3 separate regions of the Homo sapiens genome follow, and all the other regions are linked to region 1. Evidence: promoter capture Hi-C in human tissues and cell types (Jung and others, 2019). All regions are on one chromosome and are shown on one strand. The core of a region is centred on a gene start or on the middle of the fragment in contact, and the rest is flanking DNA. Distances in the headings are between cores, read along the strand shown.

Region 1 (3,908 bases), core at 1,006-3,505:
GATAGCCAATGGAAGTGAAGGCACCCTGAAAGAGGAAATAGCATGTGCAAAGCTGTGACATAAAGCAGCCTGAAAGTTCAAGAAACCATGAGTGGTGGTGGGATTGTTGGGTGGTGAGGAAGGAAGTGGTATCAAGGATGGCAAGAGATGGTATTGGGGAGTGGGCAGAGGCCACTGAATCCAACATCTCGCCTGCCCAGCGATGGAGCCTTGGGATTTTCCTGTGGGTGACAGGGAGCCATTGAAGCGTTTAAGGACTGGTCGTGGGGTGAGGGGAGTGTACTGTCATCATTTTTGTAGTCTTTTGCAGAGAAAATTTGGAGGCAGTTTGGAAAACACTCTAGAGCCTGACATGTGAGAGATGAGTTAGGAGGTCACGTGTCCCCACTTTTCTAATTTTGTATCTTCTTCAGCAAAAAAGTCTTTGCCGCCTATTCTGAGCAGATGTATGATTATTCACAAATGATATACAATACAACTGTATTCACACATTGCATGCCTTGAAACATACACAAAATGTAAACACTAAAAACATGACGTAAAAATAGATGTAAGTCTGGGAACTCGATGGAGGTGGTGGCTGCACAGCATTGTGAGTGTACTCAATGCCACAGGATTCCCCATCTTAAAACGGCTCATTTTATGGTATGTGAGTCTTAATTAAATACAAAAACCAGACAAGTGTGGGTAGATAGACATTCAATTCCTTTCTTCTCATCCTTCAGTGAACGGTCTGGTGTGCCCTGGGTGCACGTACCCCTTGGGGATTAGGGCAGTGATGAGAGGCAATGGAGGGAGGGTGTGGCTGTGGAGATGCGGACGGGAAGAAGGATCTGAGGAGTGACTGAAGAGGTAGAATGGGCAGGGCTTGGTGATGGAAGGTTGAAGAGTATTCAGCAAAGAGAAGAACGTGGGAAGCCTCCCCATTTCTGGTTTGGGTATAAGATAAAGAAACGTTTTCTCCTTGCCAGGGACATGAGGCAGACAATACTGGGATAATTTCCCAGGGCTTGGGATAGGACTGGGTGGGGAAGTTTCTAGGTATCCATTCTCAGGATAAGGACGGGCCTGTTTGGATGAGGATAATGGAGGGTCAAACCTGAAGAAGCCAGATTAGCAGAGGCAAAGTGAGAGATCAGAAGGTGGTAAACTCAGAAGGGGGTAGAGACCTGAGGAGCAAGCTGGGACAAGGCAGGAGGGAATTCACAGGCCACATGGTAAGTAATGAGTGGGGTAGAGGACAGAGCAGGGTTTCATTGTGGCGAGTCTGACGGGAGGTGCTGGGGGATGTTCCAGGAGAACAGCAGAAATGTGTGATGCTATGGATGTGGGCTTGGCAAGTTCCATCTGGAGCTGGGAAGAGGCCACCCATGGAGAACAGGAACCATGAGGCGGAGAGTGGAGCTTGCAGGAGGGCGAAAATTAAGACCAAAGAATGGAAGCCTGCCAGTGTGAGAGACCGCCTGACAAAAACCAGGAGAGTATGGAGTCATGGCGGCCCAGGCAGAAGTTCTGGGAGGAAAGAAATGGTCAACACTACAGGGAAGTCAAACACTGCCAGTGGAGACAAATAGGACAGGAACTGAAAAAGCATCCATTAGTGAATCCCTGGTGTCATTAGTGAAAATAATTCCAGGCATGAATGGGGAGAGGGAAGGGTGTCGGGCAGGAAGTCCAGTGCCCGTGGGTTGACTGAATGGGAGATGAGGAGGTAACACCCATCATGTAGGTCATGTAGAGCAGCCTTAGGACATCTGATTCCTTGCCTAAGACTCTTCTTTCCTGGTGTAGCTTTGTTCTAGAAAGGTCTGGAAGACTTGTCACAGTTCCAATGCAGGATGAGCCTTTGGTCCTGATCTCTTGGAGGCCCAGACAGCCTGGGAAACCAGCAGAGCTTTGGACAAGTTAAGCAGCCCATTGAAATCAACATTCTTGATAATCATATATCTAAGAGATTCCAAAATGTTCCTGGGATTCTTTTATGGGTCTGCATAGGGTTAGAAAGCACAGGAGTCAAAGAGACCTTCTCCCTTGGCCTCCAGGGCCACCATCCTCTGCTTTTGTCAGTTGGTCTCCCCAGAGTAGAGTCCAGGTTCCTGCTTCCAGCCTTCTGGTAGACCAGGCCCTGCCACAAGTGAGAGTTGGCCGGTTGGGTATCTGGTTTAGTCACTCGCCTCCACACTTTCACATCCTCTATCAACACCTGCACACTTGGGTTGTGACCACACATGCTCTTCCTGTTTGTACAGAAAGTGCCATTCAGAAAGCTCGCCAGCGAGAAGAGAGCTCCACGCTCAGCCTCAGAAGAAAGACGTTCAACGACTTACTGGGGAGAGAAAGAAAAGGAACGGGAGCTGAGAGGTAAGATCAAACTGGAGGGTGTGCGGGCCCTCTAGGATGCCTTGCCTGGAAGAGAGGTAGCCCCGACTTTGTGTCCTGAAGGGTGGCGCTCTAAGTAGCTGTGCCCATGCTCCGCTGGTCAGGGCAGGGGGAGCATTCTTGGTCAGCCTCACCGAGATGGTCCAGGCCCTGGTGAACAGCCAGAGGGATTGAGAAGGAAGAGATGGGATGTGACCAAAGTTGGTCACTGAAGCCGTCAGTGTGTGTGCGTGTGCATGTGTGTGTGTGTGTGTGGTAGAGGGTGCACATAAAGAAGACATAACCTGAGTGTGAACATGCTCACACACATATTTATGATGCTGGCTGGGGCCTTATGAAAAGTGTGTCTTAACCTCATGTTGCTCATTAGCTATAACCTCAAAAATAGAAACCATGACATGGCCACAGACTGGATCCCAGTCAATGGCCCCAGTGAGTGAGCTTGCAAGGAGAGATCATGGGCAGTTCCACCTAAGGCCACCGTCACTTCTGCAGAAATGACTTGGAATAATGACCTCCTCACTGTTAGGGGCTAACAGCACTATATTTGTATTTCTTGGATGGAACATTGTATATGTGTGTATTTGTGTGTGTGTGTCTGTGTATGTGCATAAACACATCATGTATTTATACACATGACATTGTGTGTATGTGTGTTTATGTGTGTATATATATGTACACACACATATGATATAATGCAATATACACAGTGACCAGATTTTTGAAACCAAAGAGAACTAATAGCAAGACAAAGGGGTTTTTTTCCTAATATGTGATTTCCTTGCTATTCGAGTCTCACATATATAAAAATGAAATATGTCTACACATGTGTTTCATAATTCCTTTTATTCAAAGAGGGGATCATTCAGGTAGCTAAAGGTCAAGTGTTTACAATAACAAAGTGGTGGTAAACTCATTCTTTGAATGTTGATCGTACAAACTAAATAATCCATCAAAAAATGTTGTCTCTGCCATTATTAAAAGCATGTGTTCCTTGGTGCAAAATTTAAGAATGTTCTAACTACAAGAGCACCTTCCTTTACCTAGGGCTATCCCATCTCACTGTTGAAGTGAAGTGATTACAGTGAAAGTAATACAGACATTTAATATTCTTAGTTTTGGTTGTGTTTCTGTCAACTGCTATTCCCTTGTTCTAGGCGTAACTGCACTTAGTGTTTAGTGGTGTTATGCATATGTATATTTGATTTGCATTTAGAAAATAGAAAAATATATACATTGCTTATTTTCCAGATTTCAAGGTTTAAATTCCCACTCTAACATGATGGTTTTAGGCAAGTCACTATACATCTCTGCATCGGAGTTCCCACATCTGTAACACAAGTACAATAGTAGATAGTAATCCCTTCCTCTTAAGAATTAAATAAGCTAATACATGTAAAGTGCTTAGACAAGTGCCTGGAACATTGAAAGGGCTCAGTAAGTATTAGCAGCTGTTATCATTGTCATCATCATCATCATCATCATCACTACCTTTTGTACAATTAAGCCATCAAACTTGAAGGGACATG
Region 2 (3,699 bases), core at 1,000-3,499, 400 kb after region 1:
CTATTCTGCGCTAGCGTCCTGACTTACAGTATTTCACTTAATCTTTACAATAGCTGCATGAGCTGCATGATCTCAGTGTTCACATGAAGAAGATGAGTTTCTGAGGCTAATAACGAGTCATTTTTTAATCACCTGGCTAAAAAAATGACAGCTAGAATTTGAATTCAGGGCTCTCTGCCCCAAAGACACGAGCTTTTCATCCCACTCTGTTGATTCCCAGAAAGCTGCTGCTATCACTTCACCGTGAGATTGAATTATTGTCCAAGGACTGTCTGCTGTGATTTCTGTGTGCACCCGGCATATTTTTATGGCATGCTATAATATTCACTGCAATTTAGATTCTATAAAAACGGATGCTTCTTCTACAAGACATGATGTGGCACTATCCCTGTGTGGTATAAAACCCTCTGGCATTTCATTGTCCAAGAAAGGTTTTTGATTGGCTTTTTCTTTTCTAGGAGTAAGGGGATTTTTTTTTTAATTTCATTTTCTTGAGACAAGGTCTTGCTCTGTTGCCCAGGCTAGAGTACAGTGACACAATTATAGCTCACTATAACCTTGAATTCCTGGGCTCAAGCAATCCTCCCACATTAGCTTCCCAAGTAGCCAGGACTACAGGCACATACCACTTTTTAAAATTTTTCTTATAGACAGCATTTCACTATGTTGCACAGGCTGGTCTTGAACTCCTGGCCTCAAGCGGTCCTCTTGCCTTGGCCTCCAAAAGTGCTGAGATTATAGGTGTGAGCCACCACACCTGGCCTTTTTTCATTTTTAAATAAATCTTTCTCCAAAACCCCAGCACATGTATACAAAAATAATATTCCTATTAAGTCTGAGAATTCTCTGCAATTTACAGCACATTTGAAACTTTAGGAGAACTGACCCCACCAGCATTTCCCTTGCTGTTTTTGTATATGGTTAGGAATCATGATTCCAGTAAACATGTAAGAAATGGAGAAATACTCTGTTTTGGTACCAGTACCATGCTGTTTTGGTTACTGTAGCCTTGTAGTATAGTTTGAAGTCAGGTAGTGTGATGCCTACAGCTTTGTTCTTTTGGCTTAGGATTGACTTGGCGATGCGGGCTCTTTTTTGGTTCCATATGAACTTTAAAGTAGTTTTTTCCAATTCTGTGAAGAAAGTCATTGGTAGCTTGATGGGGATGGCATTGAATCTGTAAATTACCTTGGGCAGTATGGCCATTTTCATGATATTGATTCTTCCTACCCATGAGCATGGAATGTTCTTCCGTTTGTTTGTATCTTCTTTTATTTCATTGAGCAGTGGCTTGTAGTTCTCCTTGAAGAGGTCCTTCACGTCCCTTGTAAGTTGGATTCCTAGGTATTTTATTCTCTTTCAAGCAATTGTGAATGGGAGTTCACTCATGATTTGGCTCTCTGTTTGTCTGTTGTTGGTGTATAAGAATGCTTGTGATTTTTGTACGTTGATTTTGTATCCTGAGACTTTGCTGAAGTTGCCTCTCAGCTTAAGGAGATTTTGGGCTGAGACAATGGGGTTTTCTAGATATACAATCATGTCATCTGCAAACAGAGACAATTTGACTTCCTCTTTTCCTAATTGAATACCCTTTGTTTCCTTCTCCTGCCTAATTGCCCTGGCCAGAACTTCCAACACTATGTTGAATAGGAGTGATGAGAGAGGGCATCCCTGTCTTGTGCCAGTTTTCAAAGGGAATGCTTCCAGAAATAACGCCGCATGTCTACAACTATCTGATCTTTGACAAACCTGAGAAAAACAAGCAATGGGGAAAGGATTCCCTATTTAATAAATGGTGCTGGGAAAACTGGCTAACCATATGTAGAAAGCTGAAACTGGATGCCTTCCTTACACCTTATACAAAAATTAATTCAAGATGGATTAAAGACTTAAACGTTAGACCTAAAACCATAAAAACCCTAGAAGAAAACCTAGGCATTACTATTCAGGACATAGGCATTGGCAAGGACTTCATGTCAAAATGGCAACAAAAGCCAAAATTGACAAATGGCATCTAATTAAACTAAAGAGCTTCTGCACAGCAAAAGAAACTACCATCAGAGTGAACAGGCAACCTACAAAATGGGAGAAAATTTTCACAACCTACTCATCTGACAAAGGGCTAATATCCAGAACCTACAATGAACTCAAACAAATTTACAAGAAAAAAAACAAACAACCCCATCAAAAAGTGAGCAAAGGACATGAACAGACACTTCTCAAAAGAAGACATTTATGCAGCCAAAAAACACATGAAAAAATGCTCACCATCACTGGCCATCAGAGAAATGCAAATCAAAACCACAATGAGATACCATCTCACACCAGTTAGAATGGCAATCATTAAAAAGTCAGGAAACAACAGGTGCTGGAGAGGATGTGGAGAAATAGGAACACTTTTACACTGTTGGTGGGACTGTAAACTAGTTCAACCATTGTGGAAGTCGGTGTGGCGATTCCTCAGGGATCTAGAACTAGAAATACCATTTGACGCAGCCATCCCATTACTGGGTATATACCCAAAGGACTATAAATCATGCTGCTATAAAGACACATGCACACGTATGTTTATTGCGGCACTATTCACAATAGCAAAGACTTGGAACCAACCCAAATGTCCAACAATGACAGACTGGATTAAGAAAATGTGGCACATATACACCATGGAATACTATGCAGCCATAAAAAATGATGAGTTCACGTCCTTTGTAGGGACATAGATGAAATTGGAACTCATCATTCTCAGTAAACTATCGCAAGAACAAAAAACCAAACACCGCATATTCTCACTCATAGATGGGAATTGAACAATGAGAACACATGGACACAGGAAGGGGAACATTACACTCTGGGGACTGTTGTGGGGTGGGGGGAGGGGGGAGGGATAGCTTTAGGAGATATACCTAATGTTAAATGATGAGTTAATGGGTGCAGCACACCAGCATGGCACATGTATACATATGTAACTAACCTGCACATTGTGCACATGTACCCTAAAACTTAAAGTATAATAATAATAAAATAAAAATTAAAAAAAAGAAATAGAGAAATACTGAGCTTCAGAGAAACCAAAAACAAAATATCTGTGTGGATTGATTACTAACTCATTATTTTAGGCCAGTGCTTCTATTCTCTTTGAAGTGAGAAAGACTGTATTATAGATACTAAAGGAAAGATTGTATAAACAGAAAATGACTTTCAATACAAATCTTTTAAAAGGTAGATCGTTTGCTGAATTACTGATCAATTGAACTTGATATTATAAAATGGAAGCTTATTAAGCATTGAGATACTTGAATATTAACATGGATGATTTATGTCTACATTTTTAAAAATTATGAGAACGTCCTGTTCAGTTGAGTGACTGCATTTAAGCAATCCTTCCCCTTCCTTCAGAATCCCCACCTAATAGCCATGAAGCTGTAGAAATGGAAATAAATCCAAAATAGCACCATCAGAATAAGTGCCATCAGCAAACCAGAAATTTAGTTGTGTTCTGGAAAGCCGAAAGTAATAAAACCCTACTGAAAAATACCCCTGAACAGGGAAGGTCGTGACACAGCAAAGGAAGAATCAGACAGGAACAAGTTTTAGTGGTGGTGGGAACAGCCCCCAGGAGCCCCAGGAAAGACCACATTTCCACTGGACCCCAAGAGAGAACAAGTGCGAATTGCTTGCAGTGATGGGAACACCTGGCCA
Region 3 (3,653 bases), core at 543-3,042, 430 kb after region 1:
CACATGTTCACTTTTGTCAGCCCCTGTTCACAAAACACAGTAGAGGTTACTGACCAACTTCTGAGATGCTTTGTGCCAAAGGAGTGAGGAAGGAGAAGGAAATGGCATGCACTGGGCCCCTGCCATGTTTCTAGCCCTGGCCTAGTCACTTTGTGTAAATGATCTCTTCAGTCTTCCCAGTAGCTCTGAAAGCTGGGCTCGTCTTTCCTCAATTTACAGATGAGGAAACTGAGGCTGAAAGAGCTCAGCCAGTGAGTGTCTTCCTACACAGGCCTTTCCTCTGGTGCACGCTGCCAAGAGGCGACTAGAATATATGGCTCCCTGAAGTATTCCCCTTGGAGAACCCAAGAGCATTCCAGTAGGACCTAGGAAAGTTTTAACCCAAAGAACTGACAACCCAGAATATTTTAGGACCCATTCATAGGTTCAACAAGTAGGCATTTGGAATATATGTCATGGGAGAAGGGAAGTTTTCAGTGACTCCAGTTAGACCACATAAGCAATGGTTTACTTCAGTTATGATTAAGGTGGGGAACAGTCTCTGGAAGCGAGTTTGGCCCTTTTGCAATGAGCTCTTCAGTCCACAGAGACATGAGTTAAGAAACTTCAGCTACTCCATACTCACTGTGGCTTTAACAGGTGCCAACGTTTTTCTGAGGAGTCGCCCGGGCTGTGGGAGATTGTGGCTGGTATTACCATATTTATTGACTGCAGCAAGCAATCAATAAATATTGCCTGACATTAACAGACTGCCTGTGCTTCCTCCCAATGTTATCTTTAATGAATCTTCATGCTCTTGTGTTGAAGTGTTTCTAGCATTGAGAACATAGTACTTATTCAATAAGCAAGTACAGTATGAATAAATGAAGGAATGCAGGATACTACAAAGGATGGCTGGAACACATACATTCGCTGTGCGTCTTCTTTCAGAAATACCATCAGCTGGATTTGTTCTCCCTCTTCCTTGGATTCTAGTTGAGATGTAAAACCTCCTAAATGCCAAGCTTGCATATTTGCACACTGAAGCCCGCCCACCTTCCACCCCTAGATCGCAGGTTCTCTTTGCACCCGCATGCCTCTAATGCTGACCCCTTCTCAGGCAGCCTGGGACCATAAAGATACTTGGCATGCCTTAGATGCCTATTTTGTACCAGGCAGTCTACTGGACATGTTGTCTCATTTAATCCTCATAACAATCCAATGAGATGTATTATTACATTATTACATCTCATATTACAGAAGAGAAAAACGAGGTCTCAGAGAAGTGAGTTGGCTCCTGGAGGGGTTTGCAGTCATGAGCCGCAGAGCCAAGATTCCGACTGGGTCCGCCTGCTCCAGATCCTCTTGGAGACACCACACGCGGCCTGGCACAGAGGGCACATGAAACGGGAGAGATGTTAAGGAAGAAACCCCATTTCTGAAGAAAGGGCTGGTATTTCCCTAAAAGCCCTTAATATCTGCCCTCCCTCCCTACTGTCAAGAGAATTGCATCTTGAGGCTGTGAGGAGGCTGGGGAGGAGCGACAGGAGGAAGCCTGGCTCCTGTCGCTGAGTGAGCCTGGTATTTCTGTGCAGTGATGGGGGCCTTGGAAACCGCAGGGGCTGCAGTCTGGGATTCATCTGACATTCCGAGTAGCTGGCAGAAGTCAAGTGACAGCTTCCCAGCCTCGTCCCACCTGCTCACCTCAGAGGGCCTTCTGCTGTTGGCAGAGTGTATTTTAGTAAAGCTGTGCTCACATGATCCTGCCAAAGCATGTAAAATATGTTAGCCTCTGCCTCCAAGGTTCTACCGCAGAGAATTCCACCCCCACTTTTAACTTCTTAAATGACTGAAATATCCAAAGGGACAGGGAATGTGGAGATAATGGGCAGGTGACCAAACTTTCACATTCAGGCAGGCACTCACCTTTTTGTGTCAAAAAAGGCTATTCTTGCTTTAAAAATAAGGATTCCATGGGATTTCAAGGATTTAGTTAGAATACTGCAGGTGTTGGTATATCATGATTAAGAGGTAACAAATACTGAATACTGGCCAGGCACAGTGCCTCACACCTGTAATACCAACACTTTGGAAGGCTGATCACTTGAGGTCAGGAGTTCGAGACCAACTTTACCAACATGGTGAAACCCCATCTCTACTAAAAATACAAAAATTAGTCGGGCATGGTAGCGCACGCCTGTAATCCCAGCTACTTGGGAAGAAGCTGAGGCATGATAATCCCTTGAACTGGGGAAGCAGAGGTTGCAATGACCCAAGATCGCAACACTGCACTCCAGCCTGGACAATAGAGACTCTGTCTCAAAAAAAGAAACAAAAAACAAATACTGAATACTGTGTGCCAGGCTCTGTATTAAATACTTTATAAAAATAAGGGTAATAGTGTAACAATTCTGCAGGGACAATAAGTGTAAGCTGAAACATAGGATCACCCTATACATGAATCAGCTCTTCGAATCTTTATAGCAACTCAGAAAGGAGACAACATTAGAATATCCCATTGTATAGATAAGAAACCAAGGCAGAGAGAGCTCACCCAGGTAGGCAGCATGGCCAAGCCAGGATTTTACCCCAGAGGTGTTTGACTCAGAAGCACTTGTTTTCCTCACTGCCTCAGACTACAGACACCTGAGCTGCATTAAAAACATGGATAAACAAATGAAGTTCAAAGTGGTTTCCAGATGGCTGGAAACCCAGTGATTTGGGACTATTTCATTTGAAAATCTGCTTAACAGTAAAGCTAGACGATCAAGTTCGATTAATTGGCTTTGGGGGTAGGGATGAGAAAGAGTGTCATTTATTTGCTTGTGGAGTTTCTGGGAGTAAATAGAATAATAAGTAGGGTGAAACAAGAATAACCAGTAGTTGGATAGAACTGATAACCATATAGCTTCACTTCTTGGAACAGTAGTATCATGCTAATTTCACACAACCTTGGAAGTTGTATCCTCTGAAAATAAAGAGAAGTTTCTTTTTAATGAGTAAATACATAAAATATTGCTATTTATAATTTTTTTAAAATACCCATTTGACTGCAAGAGAAAAATCTTTTCTCTCATGACCCAGTTATCAAAGTGGAGACATTCTCTGACTTGGTGAGTTTTATCTTTCTATTGATAGTTTGGGCTAGATCACGTGATCTTCACCCCTAAAACTTACTGAGCATTTACTGTGTTCTTGGCACTGTTCTGAGTGCTTGTCTCATACTCTTACGGCTCTCTGGGGTGGTTATCCCCATTTTCAGATAAGGAATATGTGCACAGAAAGGTTAGGAAACTGGACCAGCCTCACACAGCTAGTTTGTGACAGAGCTAGGGTTTGAACCCAGTTTGACTCCTGAACTCATACTTTTTTCAAAAAAGAGATCTCCCTATTTGCCTGGGCTGGCCTTGAACTCCTGGGCTTAAGTGATCCTCCCTGCTCAGCCTCCTGAGTAGCTGGGTTCACAAACAGGTGCTAGAGCACCTGACTCTGCACCCGCCTAGAGCCCATACTTTTTCTCACACCTCTGTGTGATTATTTTGTTTCTCCTTCTGGTACTTTCTCCCTTTACCCCCTTCTGTTTCTCTTCCTTCTTCACCTATCTTGTATTATTCTTTGAATTGAATTAAGAATTTAAAGTCCAGTTTAAGAATTTAAAGTACAGCCTCCATTTC

What was found. The method cuts DNA at HindIII sites, captures the fragments that hold promoters and counts their contacts. A contact is called where the count stands out against the background at its distance.
Region 2: a contact is called between a fragment that was not itself captured here and the fragment with the promoter of AFF3 in region 1, in 1 of the 25 tissues and cell types used here (mesenchymal stem cells).
Region 3: a fragment that was not itself captured here is called in contact with the fragment with the promoter of AFF3 in region 1 in 1 of the 25 tissues and cell types used here (IMR-90 fibroblasts).

The regions. Positions count from the first base shown.
Region 1 is chr2:100,140,937-100,144,844 of GRCh38, reverse strand. AFF3 (ALF transcription elongation factor 3) reads left to right here and starts at 2,255. Exons shown (of 25, transcript NM_001386135.1): 1 at 2,255-2,361. The HindIII fragment of the contact is 13,656 bases long and covers 1-3,908 here.
Region 2 is chr2:99,739,138-99,742,836 of GRCh38, reverse strand. All of the region lies in intron 10 of AFF3 (ALF transcription elongation factor 3), which reads left to right. Among named protein-coding and RNA genes, the nearest start is that of REV1, 250 kb to the right of the region's middle. The HindIII fragment of the contact is 5,333 bases long and covers 1-3,699 here.
Region 3 is chr2:99,708,923-99,712,575 of GRCh38, reverse strand. The region is part of intron 11 of AFF3 (ALF transcription elongation factor 3); the gene reads left to right. Among named protein-coding and RNA genes, the nearest start is that of REV1, 220 kb to the right of the region's middle. The HindIII fragment of the contact is 7,042 bases long and covers 1-3,653 here.